Regions from separate parts of the Homo sapiens genome. Here region 2 is linked to region 1. The links are contacts of gene promoters, found by promoter capture Hi-C in blood cells and fetal thymus (Javierre and others, 2016). All regions are on one chromosome and are shown on one strand. The core of a region is centred on a gene start or on the middle of the fragment in contact, and the rest is flanking DNA. Distances in the headings are between cores, read along the strand shown. Region 1 holds the start of BCAS3 (BCAS3 microtubule associated cell migration factor). Region 2 holds the start of SMG8 (SMG8 nonsense mediated mRNA decay factor).

What was found. The method cuts DNA at HindIII sites, captures the fragments that hold promoters and counts their contacts. A CHiCAGO score of 5 or more calls a contact.
Region 2: a contact is called between the fragment with the promoter of SMG8 here and the fragment with the promoter of BCAS3 in region 1, in 1 of 17 cell types (neutrophils). The highest score is 5.5, in neutrophils.

The regions. Positions count from the first base shown.
Region 1 is chr17:60,674,796-60,681,394 of GRCh38, reverse strand. It overlaps BCAS3 (BCAS3 microtubule associated cell migration factor), which reads right to left and starts at 3,544. Exons shown (of 24, transcript NM_017679.5): 1 at 3,481-3,544; 2 at 1,855-1,942. The coding sequence starts at 1,937. RefSeq lists enhancers at 3,503-3,652, 3,823-3,992 and a silencer at 3,411-4,164. The HindIII fragment of the contact is 12,302 bases long and covers 1-6,599 here.
Region 2 is chr17:59,204,797-59,211,395 of GRCh38, reverse strand. It overlaps SMG8 (SMG8 nonsense mediated mRNA decay factor), which reads right to left and starts at 1,361. Exons shown (of 4, transcript NM_018149.7): 1 at 1-1,361. The coding sequence starts at 1,344. PRR11 (proline rich 11) reads right to left here. Exons shown (of 10, transcript NM_018304.4): 10 at 4,687-6,599. RefSeq lists an enhancer at 1,483-1,552. The HindIII fragment of the contact is 12,029 bases long and covers 347-6,599 here.

The DNA of each region.
Region 1 (6,599 bases), core at 2,295-4,794:
CCAAGTAGCTGGGATTACAGGCTATTGCCACCACCCCCAGCTAAGTTTTGTATTTTTAGTAGAGACGGGTTTTCTCCACATTGGTCAGGCTGGTCTCAAACTCCCAACCTCAGGTGATCCGCCCACCTCAGCCTCCCAAAATGCTGGGATTACAGGCATGAGCCACTGCGCCCAGACATATATTTTTTTTAAGACACAGTCTCACTCTGTCACCTAGGCTGGAGTGTAATGGCACAATCACAGCTTACCACAGCTTCAAGCTCCTGGGCCGAGGTGATCCTCCCATCTCAGCCTCCCGAGTAGCTAAGGCTCCAGGCGCCTGCCACAATGCCTGGCTAATTTTTGTATTTTTTTAAGGCATGAGGGTCTCAGGATGTTGTTCAGGCTGGTGTCAAACTCCTGGTTTCAAGCAATCCTCCCATGTCAGCCTTCAAGTATACATATCTTTGGCCAGGCACAGTGGCTCACACATGTAATTCTAGCACTTTGGGAGGCCAAGACAGGCAGATCACCTGAGGTCAGGAGTTCAAGACCAGCCTGGCCAAATGGCAAAACCCCGTCTTTGCTAAAAATACAAAATTTGGCCAGGCCTGGTGGCGCTCGCCTGTAATCCCAGCTACTTGGGAGGCCAAGGCAGGAGAATCGCTTGAATCTGGGAGACAGAGGAGGAGGTGGAGGCTGCAGCGAGCCGAGACGGCGCCACTGCACTCCAACCTGGGCAACAGAGTGAGACTCCATCTAAAAAAAAAAAAAAAGTATACATATCTTCAAACCATATTAGATTATAAACTCACTCTAGTAAGTATAGACATTCTTTGTCAAAGAATGCCAAAAACAGAGACATATACTATGACACTTACTTTGAAACTTTCTGACAGAGACCTAGACTAAGAGATTCCTTTTATAGATAACACATGGATACATAGACGGGAACACCACACACTGGTGCCTATCAGAGTTGGGTGGGAGCGGGGAGAGGGTCAGGAAAAATAACTAATGGGGACTATGCTTAATACCTGGGTGATGAAATAATCTGTACAACAAACCCCTGTGACATGAGTTTCCCTATATAACAAACCTGCACATGTACCCTTGAACTTAAAAGTTAAAAGAGATACATTTTACATCACTGTCTGGTAAATATATACATACACATGAACATATTTATGTGCATGTCATGAAACAATACAAACTCTCAGCTATATTTTCTAATTTTCTATTATATTCTATTTCATTTTCTTTCTTTTTTTTTTTTTTTTTGGAGACAGAGTCTTGCTGTGTCGCCCAGGCTAGGGTGCAGTGGCGCGATCTCAGCTCACTGCAAGTTCCACCTCCCAGGTTCACGTCATTCTCCTGACTCAGCCTCCCGAGTAGCTGGGACTACAGGGGCCACCATACCCGGCTAATTTTTTGTATTTTTAGTAGAGACAGGGTTTCACCGTTTTAGCCAGGATGGTCTCGATCTCCTGATCTCGTGATCCGCCTGCCTGGGCCTCCCAAAGTGCTGGGATTACAGGCATGAGCCACTGCGCCCGGCCTCTATTTCATTTTCTACTACAACTCCTGACCCACTAAACTGATTTAACAATCCACTAATTTGTTAAACCTGGAGTTTGAAAACACTGCTCTTCAGGATTTAGCATAGTGCTCTTCACGTACTCTGTAAATGTGCTGAATACGTCAACTTAACTCTCCAATTCTTCATTTGGTCTTGGCAATTATTATTATTCATCCCATAAAGCCAACAGTTAAAAGATTTTTACAAAAGTAACCACTGTTCATAAAGAAAACCTAAATGTTAGTATTCTGAGTAATCTTTTCTTCAGCTATTGGGTTTATCTGAAATGTGCTTACGTGACAGCCTGGGGGCGAACCACAACTCCACCAGTACAACGACTGGGTCTTCTTGGGGAATCTGTAGCCATAGCTTCATTCATAAAACCTGTTTCCAGAACAAACAAACAAACAAAAAACAGAAAAACATGGATCGTTGTTGGGGGTAGGGAGGAAGATTTATGATTACTCACTAGAGATCCCTTGTCAAAAATGCCTCAAATGTAGGAAACTTTCCCAGAAATTCCTGTTACACCAGAAAGGGAAAAAAGGAGGAAGTAGGTTTTTAATTTTTTTCAAATTATAATGAGGGGTTTGGGGGGTTATTATTATTTTTGAGATAGAGTCTCGCTCTGTCGCCCAGGCTGGAGTTCAGTGGCACGATCTCTGCTCATGGCAATCTCCGCCTCCCAGGCTCAAGCAATTCTCCTGCCTCAGCCTCCTGAGTAGCTGGGATTACAGGCGAGCGCCACCATGCCGAGCTAAATTTTATATTTTTTTGTAGCGACGGGGTTTCACCATGTTGCCAAGGCTGGTCTCGAACTCCTGAGCTCAAGCAATCCATCCGCCTTAGCCTCCCAAAGTGCTGGGATTATAGGCTTGAGCCACCGCGCCCATCCTGTTTTGTTTTTTAATAGGACCAGGTCTCAGAACCACAAAACAATGTAAGGAAGACTCCTGCTGTACCCCTTGGTCTGTTGTTAACATAAATTACAAGGGTGAGAGAACCAGATCATGGGATGGGAATTTACTGCAATTTTATGTTGAGATAGTGAAAATACACATGGTACAATATTTCAAGACCAAACGGAACAAGTGACATGATATCACTCTACCTTCCAATTAAACCTGTTGGGAATCTATGAGTAAATCACAATTTAAATCACATTCGTAACCCCCTGCTACTATAACAAATAAGTCAAGTAATTATTTGACTAGTAGCAAGTAGTCAAATAACTAACATAAACTAATACGTTGTTACAGCCCTTTACCCTTTCCCGTCACATCAGTAAATCCTGATCCTAGAATGTTTCATGACCCTCTGAATCACTGAGATTTTAAGAGCATGGAGTCGGCTTGGTTAAGGTTAAAAGAGGACTGACAGCAATATCAAAGATCTCTTACAGGGCTCAGGGAAGCCCACAACCTGGAACTCATCTTGAAGGCACCGAAAACCATTTTTAAGTAGGGAGCATTCACACCTGATGTGAAAACTCTAAACCTGTGCGCCCCACCTCCTACAACCAAAACACCCTCTGCCCCAAGGAGCAGAGCCACCACCTCCTCAGAGGATACCTGCACCTCCAGCCCCTCAGCCCTCTCATTCTCATCCCATTCTTGCTTTCTCGAACCACAGTCTCCCAAGCCCTGCCCTTTAAGGGCCCTGTCTCCTGGGGACGACCCTCGCCAGCCACTCAGGCCCCAGTCTCCTGAAAGACACTCGTACGGCGCTGCCCACTTAACCTCCAACACGGAGCCACCGCTGCCCCCGGCCGCCCTCCGGCCCCTTGCACTGTTCCCCTCCCCCTCCAGTATCGACACCTCTCTCCTGTCGAATTCCTGCCAGCCCGACCCAGTCCCCTCACGCCGCCAGTCCCTCGTCCTCCCCAAGCCTCCCCAAAGCCAAAGCCCTGCCAGCCCTCTCACCGGCCGCCCCGCCGGTTAACGCTAGTCTCCAGCTCTAGGCTCACTGTTTGGAGTCTCCCCGAGTGATTGACGGCAGCCACTTCCTACCACGCCTCAGCGGAACCACCCCCTCTAGCCAATCCCAGAAGCAAACCGGCTATGGCCGGGCACCGCCCTTGGAGGTCAGCTTCGCCAACCAGCAAGTAGGAAAGAGGCGGACCCGCCTTCTGAATGTGTCCAATCCGCTGGGGCTGGAGGGAAAACACAACAGCATGTAAGTTCGGGTGAAGCCGAGGTGTCAGGTTCGGTTGCAAACGCAGGCAGCTGGGGAATAATTACGAACATGTACATTTTTTTTGGAAGACAGAACCTTCGTGGCTTTGAAAAGAAAAGCAACATGATCCAGACTCCTGTCCCGCTCACGTGAGCGTTTCAGGTTGGAGCCGGAGGACAGGGAGACTGGTCTGTTTACATCGAATTCTCGCGACAGCTGGTTCCAAGCTCGGAGCACGTGGACATGGCAGCTGCCAATCACTTTTAGCTGGCCACTCACCCGTCCCACACCCGCCTTCTGCCCAGCCCTTGGCGATGTGTTTACCTTCCGGGAGCCTAGGCTGGCTCGCGCCGGCGATCAGCCGAGGAGGGGTTGATCTGAATAAGGGGCACGGCCGGTAATCTCAACAATTTGAGCTAGGTTTGTAGACCACTTCTTGCTTCAGTTTCCATCTCCCTTATTGTTGAAGATCGAGATCTCGCCATTGTCATTTCATCAGTTCATTTATTAATATAAGTAGAATAATACTGACTGACTTCTTGAACACTCAGCACAGGCCTTCGTATACTTCATATACAATACTCTAATGTATTATCAAATTTAATGCCAATGACAGGTCCGTGAGGGTATAGCTTATTAACAGGCGTGGTGGGCTGGGCGTGGTGGCTCACGCCTGCAATCCCAACATTTTGGGAAGCCTAGGCGGGAAGATCGCTTGAGGCCAGGAGTTCTAGAACAGCCTGGACAACATGAAGAAACCCCGTCTCTACTAAAAATAGCCAGGTGTGGTGGCCAATGCCTGTAATCCTAGCTACTGGGGAGGCTGAGGCGGAAGAATTGCTTGAACCCAGGAGGCGGAGATTGCAGTGAGCCTATAGATCACGCCATTGCCCTCCAGCACTTTAGCCTGGGTGACAGAGAGTCCCTCTCAAGACAGATAGATAGATAGATAGATAGATAGATAGATAGATAGATAGATACATACATACATACATACATACATACATACATACATACATACATAAAATTTTAAAAAATTTTAAAAAAAGAAATGAAAGAAAAGGCCGGGCACGGTGGCTCACACCTGTAATCCCAGCACTTTGGGAGGCTGAGAGGGGCAGATCACTTGAGGTCAGGAGGTCAAGACCAGCCTTGCCAACTTTGTGAAACTCTGTCTCTACTAAAAATACAAAAATCAGCGGGTTTTGATGGTGCACGCCTGTAATCCCAACTACTCAGGAGGCTGAGGCAGGAGAATCGCTTGAATCCGAGATGTGAAGGTTGCAGTGAGCCGAGATCGTGCAACTGCACTCCAGCCTCTGGGCGACAGAGCAAAACTCTCGCTCAAAAAAAAAAAAAGAAGAAGAAGAAGAAGAAGAATATATTTGGAAATATTGAAATAACTTGATAATGTGGGATTGAAATAACTTGATAATGTGGAATTGTAACATTGAAAAGGAGGCCTAGCATGACTAACTCCATTTTGCTCCTAAACTCCCCACTCCCACCCATCGGTGATATCTAAGTTAACTGCTTTTGCTTATCTCTGCACATAGACTAAGCTAACCAAGGGAGGAATTTATAGTTTAACTTTAAAGCAAGGATGATAATAGTCCCTTCCCAAAACTAACCCCCAAGGAGAAAAGGAGGGTGTACACACAAGTAACAATGTTGAGAGTTTGAGAAAGTATTGTGACCTGACCAGTAACAGAGAGGCTTCAGGCCTCGAGGAACCCTTGCTGGCGCCCAGATGTCTACGGTCATCAGTCACCCCTTGATTCAAACCCTCTCTTCTTCCCCCTGCCCTTAACACAAAAAGAGCCTGAAATGTGTACTAACTTAAGATGGTTCTTCAGGCTGGGTGTGATGGCTCACACCTCTCATCCCAGCACTTTGGGAGGCCGAAATAGGTGGATCACCTGAGATCAGGAGTTCAAGACCAGACTGACCAACATGGAGAAACCCCGTCTCTACTAAAAATACAAAAATTAGCTGGACGTGGTGGTGTGCGCCTGTAGTCCCAGCTACTCGGGAGGCTGGGACAGGAGAATCACTTAAACCCGGGAGGTGGAGGTTGCAGTGAGCCAAGATCAAGGCACTGCACTCCAGCCTGGGCGACAGAGCAAGACTCCAACTTTTTTTTTTTTTTGAGATGGAGTCTCACTGTGTCACCAGGCTGGAGTGCAGTGTCTCAATCTTGGCTCACTGCAACGTCCACCTCGCGGGTTAAAGCGATTCTTCTGCCTCGGCATCCTGAGTAGCTGGGATTACAGGCACCCGCCACCACTCCTGGCTAATTCTTTGCATTTTTAGTAGTGACGGGGTTTCACCATTTTGGCCAGGCTGGTCTTGAACTCCTGACTTCATGTTCCACCCGCCCTGGCCTCCCAAAGTGCTGGAATTACAGGCGTGAGCCACCATGCCCAGCCAAAAAGATGGTTCTTTAGTACATTATTCTGCAATTTTCCGGGTTTGCTAGCTCTCAGAAATAAAGTTACTATCCTTGCTCTAACTCCTTGACTCTTCACCCCTTGGCTGTCATGCAGTGAGCAGAACAAGTTAGGACTCGGTTACAGGATGAAGGTGAGAGGTGAAGCCAGCTGGACTTCCTGGGTAGAGTGGGGACTTGGAGAACTTTTCTGTCTTAGGAGAGGATTGTAAAACACACCAGTCAGCACTCTGTAGCTAGGATTGGAAAACGCACCAATCAGCACTCTGTAGCTAGCAAGGGGATTGTAAGGTGCACCAATCAGCACTCTGTAGCTAGCAAGGGGATTGTAAAATGCACCATTCAGTGATCTGTAAAAACGCACCAATCAACGCTCTGTAGCTAGCAAGAGGATTGTAAAATGCACCAATCAGCACT
Region 2 (6,599 bases), core at 112-2,611, 1.5 Mb after region 1:
CCACTTCTGATAAGTAGGAAGTTCAAAATGGGAAGGCTGTGGGTTCCTGCCCACACTGTCATCGAAACCTTTCTTGCTTAGAACTAGCTCCACATGCTGCCATAGGAATTCCCGAAGAGTGAAATCCACTAGCTGGCCTGAAGAACTGGAACTGCTGCTGTCAATGTGAAAGGAAAGTTGTTGTCGGCTGTGCTGCCTCATCACCTGGTATCGCCTAGGCCCAGAAAGGGGTGCAGGCACCAGCAAAGATTCCGGGTCCTTCACAGTACAATGACTCCTAAGTTGGTCCAGCAACATACCTACTGGGTCCTCCTCCTGGCTTCCCGGTACTATGTACACGAAAGCTTGGTTGGCAGGCACAGTAAAGAGGCAGTTGATGCTCTGATTAGTCAAGACACGACTCTTCCGGAAGATTCTATAGATCTGGTCCTCCAGGGCATGCTGCAGCCTCCTTTTGGGAGAATGTTTCTTGGGCTTGTCTGGATGAGCTGGGTCTTGGTTCCGAGGAGGTTCTACCTTGAGGGCTCCATTGAGTTGAAAGAGGAAAAGGAGTCTAGGTGGGCAAGGTCGGCAGTTTAGCTTCCAGTCTTTGCCAACTGGACAATCCTTAATGGCTGTTTTAAGGAGCGGCAGGACCTTCTGTCTCAGCCCATCCAGGGCTCTGAATACTCGATCATAAGTGATATCAAAGGAACAAGTGGGATGGACCAGAAGCAAGATATGACAGACAGAGAATAGGTAAAGGAGACTGAGGCACTGCAGCTTCTCTTGATGCTTCCAGAACTCGTGTGCTTCTGCATGAGGTAAAGAGAGTCCACCTCCAGCTTCCCCGCTCTGAAGAGCCCGACAAGCCCGGAGAAGCTGTGAATTGTCACAGATGGAGGTGAGGAGAAGATACAGAACTTTGCTTTCCTGACTGTAGTAGGCCTGCAGAAGGCTGTAGTCCTGGGAGCCTGCCTCAGTTCGGTTACCTTCCGCGACAGCTCCACTTCCCCGAACTGAACCCCCGGCTGCAGCCCCAGGGTCCTCGGCTCCACCGGCCTCACCCACGGCGCCAGCCTCAGTTCTGATTCCAGGTCCTGGATCCCCAGGATCTTGGTGGCGAAAGAGAGGAAAGACCTGTCGGTCGCACACCGTATTCACAAGAGAGAACTTCTCGGAATTCAGGCGTAGAGCCGTCTTGCCGAAGATTCCCACAACGCAGATCTCATCCTCCCGCCATGGAGGCTCCGGTCCGCCAGCCGCGCTCCCTCCGCCCTCAGTAGGGGACCCTCCGGGACTTTCAGAGCCCATCCAGGCTGATGCTCCCATTAGAAGGTCTCGCAAGCTCACGGGACCAGCCATAGTGCAGAGCGTTCTCTAGAGTCCTTCCGGTCCGTTAGTAAAACCGACCGGCTTTCGTCCAATTTTGAAATCCTTCCTCCGCTTCTTCAGTTCCTGCTTTCCCGTCACTTGAGTTCCGCCTCCTCTTCTCCTCTCCTAGTTTGTTTCCTCAACTGTAGGAATTGAGATATCAAAAACAAAAAACAAAAAAACAAAACAAAACTGGGACTACTGCGGTGGCTCACGCCTGTAATCCTAGCACTTTGGGAGGCCAAGGCGGGCGGATCACCTGAAGTCAGGAGTTCGAGACCAGGCTGGCCAACATGGTGAAACCCCATCTCTACTAAAAATACGAAAATTAGCCGGGCGTGGTGGCGGGCGCCTGTAATCCCAGCTACTCGGGAGGCTGAGGCAGGACAATCGCTTGAACCCGGGAGGCGGAAGTTGCAGTGAACCGAGATCACACCATTGCACTCCAGCCTGGGCAACAAGAGCGAAAACCGTCTAAAAAAAAAAAAAAAAAAAAAAAAAAAAGCAAAAATTAGGCGTGGTGGCGCATACCTGTAGTTCCAGCTGCTCAGGAGGCTGAGGCAGGAGAATTGCTCGAACCAGGAGGTGGAGGTTGCAGTGAGCCGAGATCACCCCGCTGCACTCCAGCCTGGGCGACAGAGTGAGACTCCGTCTCAAAAAAAAAAAAAATTGCGAAATATCTTTGTATGTAAATTATAACTTGCAGAACCTCTCTAACTAGAAGGCATATTGACAAATAGCTGCCAGGATAAAACTTACAACCAGATTTAAATGTATAATTATAACGTTTATTATTCTGGGGTTTTGTAAAAAATAAAAATCTTTGAATCTAAAAAAATTATCTATAGCACTATACAATAACATGACTGAATCTTTAAAATAAATGTTGATTGAAAGAAATCAGAAACAAAAGTGTATATACCCTATAATTCTATTTTTTTTTTTTTTTTTTTTTTTTTTTGGAGATGCAGTCTTGCTCTGTGGCCAGGCTAGAGTTCAGTGGCGCGATCTCGACTCACTGCAACCTCCGGCTCCCCGGTGCAAGTGATTCTCTTGCCTCAGCCTCCCAAGTAGCTGGGATTACAGGTGCGTGAGACCACACCCAGCTAACTTTTGTATTTTTAATAGAGACAGGATTTCACCATGTTGGCCAGGATAGTCTCAATCTCCTGATCTCATGATCTGCCCGCCTCGGCCTCCCAAAGTGGTGGGATTACAGGCGAGAGCCACTGCGCCAGGCCTGATTTTATTTCTATAGAGTTCAAAAGCAAGCAAAATAAACCATTGCATTTAGGGGTGTGTTCTTACTAAAAGCAAGGAAATATTTATTGTACCAAGTAGGTCAGTGATTACTTAGTGAGGGAAGGGATTATGATATAATATATATATTATATATATACATAATAATATATATTACACATATACATAATAATATATATTATATATATACATAATAATATATATTATATATATTTTGAGACAGAGTCTTGCTCTGTTGCCCAGAGTGGAGTACAGTGGTGCAATCTAAGCTCACTGCAAACTCCACCTCCCAGGTTCAAGTGATTCTACTGCCTCAGCCTCCCAAGGAGCTGGGATTACAGGTGCACCACCATGGGCGGCTAATTTTTGTATTTTTAGTAGAGATGGTGTTTCACCATGTTGGCCAGGCTGGTCTCGAACTCCCGACCTCACATCATCCACCCACCTCGGCCTCCCAAAGTGCTGGGATTACAGGTGTCAGCCACCACACCTCGCCTCCGGCCTAAAATTTTTTTTTTTTTTTTTTGTGAGACAGAGTCTCACTCTGTCACCCAGGCTGAAGTGCAGTGGTGCTATCTGGGATCACGGCAACCTCCATCTCCTATTCCCTGTCTCCGTCTCCTCAAGCAATTCTTCTGCCTCAGCCTCCCAAGTAGCTGGGATTACAAGCACGTACCACCACGCCCACCTAAACTTGTATTTTTAGTAGAGATGGGGTTTCCCCACGTTAGCCAGGCTGGTCTCGAACTTCCAACCCCAGGTGATCTGCCCACCCCGGCCTCCCAAAGTGCTGGGATTATAGGTTTGAGCCATCACGCTCGGCATTGATTTTTTAATTCATATATTTTCTATACTTACTATATACTTTTTTGTTTTTTTGAGACAGAGTCTCACTCTGTTGCCCAGGCTGGAGTGCAGTGGCGTGATCTCAGCTCCCTGCAAGCTCTGCCTCCCGGGTTCATGCCATTCTCCTGCCTCAGCCTCCCAAGTAGCTGGGACTACAGGCGCCTGCCACCACGCCCGGCTAATTTTTTGTATTTTTAGTAGAGACCAGGTTTCACCGTGTTAGCCAGGATGGTCTTGATCTTCTGACCTCATGATCCACCTGCCTTGGGCTCCCAAAGTGCTGGGATTACAGGCGTGAGCCACTGCGCCCGGCCAATATATACTTTTCTATAGGTATTATTATTTCTAGTTAAAAAAAAAGGTTAAAAAGGGAAAAACCAAAACTTTTATTAATCTTTATTTAAAGATGCAAGGTAGAACACATTTTAACACTGTACAATGGCAGTAGCAGCTTTGCAAATGTTTATCTATATGGACTTTTTTTTCCTGCCTGGCTTCGTTATATAGCAAAGCATTTTTCTTTTTTCTTTCTTTTTTTTTTTTTTTTTTTTTTGAGACAGCATCTTGCTCTGTCACCCAGCAGGCTGGAGTGCAGGTGGTATGAACACTGCTCGCTGGAGCCTCAACCTCCTGGACTCAAGTGATTCTCCCACCTCAGTCTCCCGAGTAGCTGGGACTACAGGCACATGCCACCATGCCCGGCTAATTTTTTGTTTTTTGTAGAGACAGGGTCTTGCAATGTTGCCCATACTGGTTTCAAACTCTTGGCCTCAAGTGATCCTCCCACCTCAGCCTCCCAAAGTGCTGGGATTACAGGTGTGAGCCACTGTGCCTGGCCCCCAAGCCTATAATTTTTTAATTTATATATTTTTCTATACTTAACATATACTTTTTTTTTTTTTGAGACAGTTTCGCTCTTGTTGCTCAAGCTGGAGTACAATGGGGCGATCTCGGCTCACTGCAACCTTTGCCTCCCAGGTTCAAGCCATTCTGGCTCAGCCTTCCCAGTAGCTGGGATTACAGGTGTCTGCCACTATGCCCGGCTAATTTTTGTATTTTTAGTAGAGACAGGGTTTCACCATGTTGGCCAGACTGGTCTCGAACTCTTGACCTCAGGTGATCTGCCTGCCTCGGCCTCCCAAAGTGCTGGGATTATAGGCATGAGCCACCGCACCCGGCCAACATTTACTTTTCTATAGGTATTATATTTCTAGTTTAAAAAGAAGGTTAGAAAGAGAAAAACCAAAACTTTTATTAATCTTTATTTTAAAACATAACCAGATGCACCTTGGTTGTTTACATTCTCTGGTTGCCATTCAGTCTCAAAGTAAACACTGGGAGCATATGATAAATCGTAGTTTAAGGAAGCCATAGCACTTACAGAGTTCTCAAATGGTTACAATATAAAATCTGTCATAAAAATCAGTAAAAGATGCAAGGTAGAACACATTTTAACACTGGTACAATGGCAGTAGCAGCTTTGCAAATGTTTGTCTATATGATTTCCACAGGACTTTTTTTTTTTGCCTGGCCTCATTATGTAGCAAAGCATTTTTTCTTTTCTTTTTGAGATGGAGTCTTGCTCTGTTACCCAGCAGGCTGGAGTGCAGTGGTATAAACACAGCTCACTGCAGCCTCAACCTCCCGGGCTCAAGTGATTCTTCCACCTCAGTCTCCTGAGTAGCTGGGACTACAGGCACACATCACCGCTCCCGGCTAATTTTTCGTTTTTTGTAGAGTTGGGGTCTTGCAGTGTTGCCCAGGCTTGTTTTGAACTCTTGGCCTCAAGCGAACCTCCTGCCTTAGCCTCCCAAAGTGCTAGGATTATAGGTGTGAGCCACTGCACTGGGCCATAAAGCATTTTTCTTTTTCTTTCTTTTTTTTTTGAGACAAGGTCTCACTCTGTTGCCCAGACTGTAGTGCAGTAGTGTGATCTCAGCTCACTGCAACCTCCACTTCCATCGTTCAAGTGATTCTCACGCCTCAGTCTTCTGAGAAGCTGAGACTATAGGCACATGCCACCACACCCAGATAATTTTTATATATTTTTTTTGGTAGAGACGGGGTTTCACCATGTTGGCCAGGCTGGTCTCAAACTCCTGACCTCAAGTGATACACCCACCTCGGCCTCCCAAAGTGCTGGGATTACAGGTGTGAGCCACTGTGCCTGGCCCCCAAGCCTATAATTTTTTAATTTATATATTTTTCTATACTTAACATATACTTTTTTTTTTTTTTTGAGACAGTTTCGCTCTTGTTGCTCAAGCTGGAGTGCAATGGGGCGATCTCGGCTCACTGCAACCTCTGCCTCCCAGGTTCAAGCCATTCTGGCTCAGCCTTCCCAGTAGCTGGGATTACAGGTGTCTGCCACTATGCCCGGCTAATTTTTGTATTTTTAGTAGAGACAGGGTTTCACCATGTTGGCCAGACTGGTCTCGAACTCTTGACCTCAGGTGATCTGCCTGCCTCGGCCTCCCAAAGTGCTGGGATTATAGGCATGAGCCACCGCACCCGGCCAACATTTACTTTTCTATAGGTATTATATTTCTAGTTTAAAAAGAAGGTTAGAAAGAGAAAAACCAAAACTTTTATTAATCTTTATTTTAAAACATAACCAGATGCACCTTGGTTGTTTACATTCTCTGGTTGCCATTCAGTCTCAAAGTAAACACCGGGAGCATATGATAAATCGTAGTTTAAGGAAGCCATAGCACTTACAGAGTTCTCGAATGGTTACAATATAAAATCTGTCATAAAAATCAGTAAAAGATGCAAGGTAGAACACAGTTTAACACTGGTACAATGGCAGTAGCAGCTTTGCAAATGTTTGTCTATATGATTTCCACAGGACTTTTTTTTTTTTGCCTGGCCTCATTATGTAGCAAAGCATTTTTTCTTTTCTTTTTGAGATGGAGTCTTGCTCTGTTACCCAGCAGGCTGGAGTGCAGTGGTATAAACACAGCTCACTGCAGCCTCAACCTCCCAGGCTCAAGTGATTCTCCCACCTCAGTCTCCTGAGTAGCTGGGACTACAGGCACACATCACCGCTCCCGGCTAATTTTTCGTTTTTTGTAGAGTTGGGGTCTTGCAATGTTGCCCAGGCTTGTTTTGAACTCTTGGCCTCAAGCAATCCTCCTGCC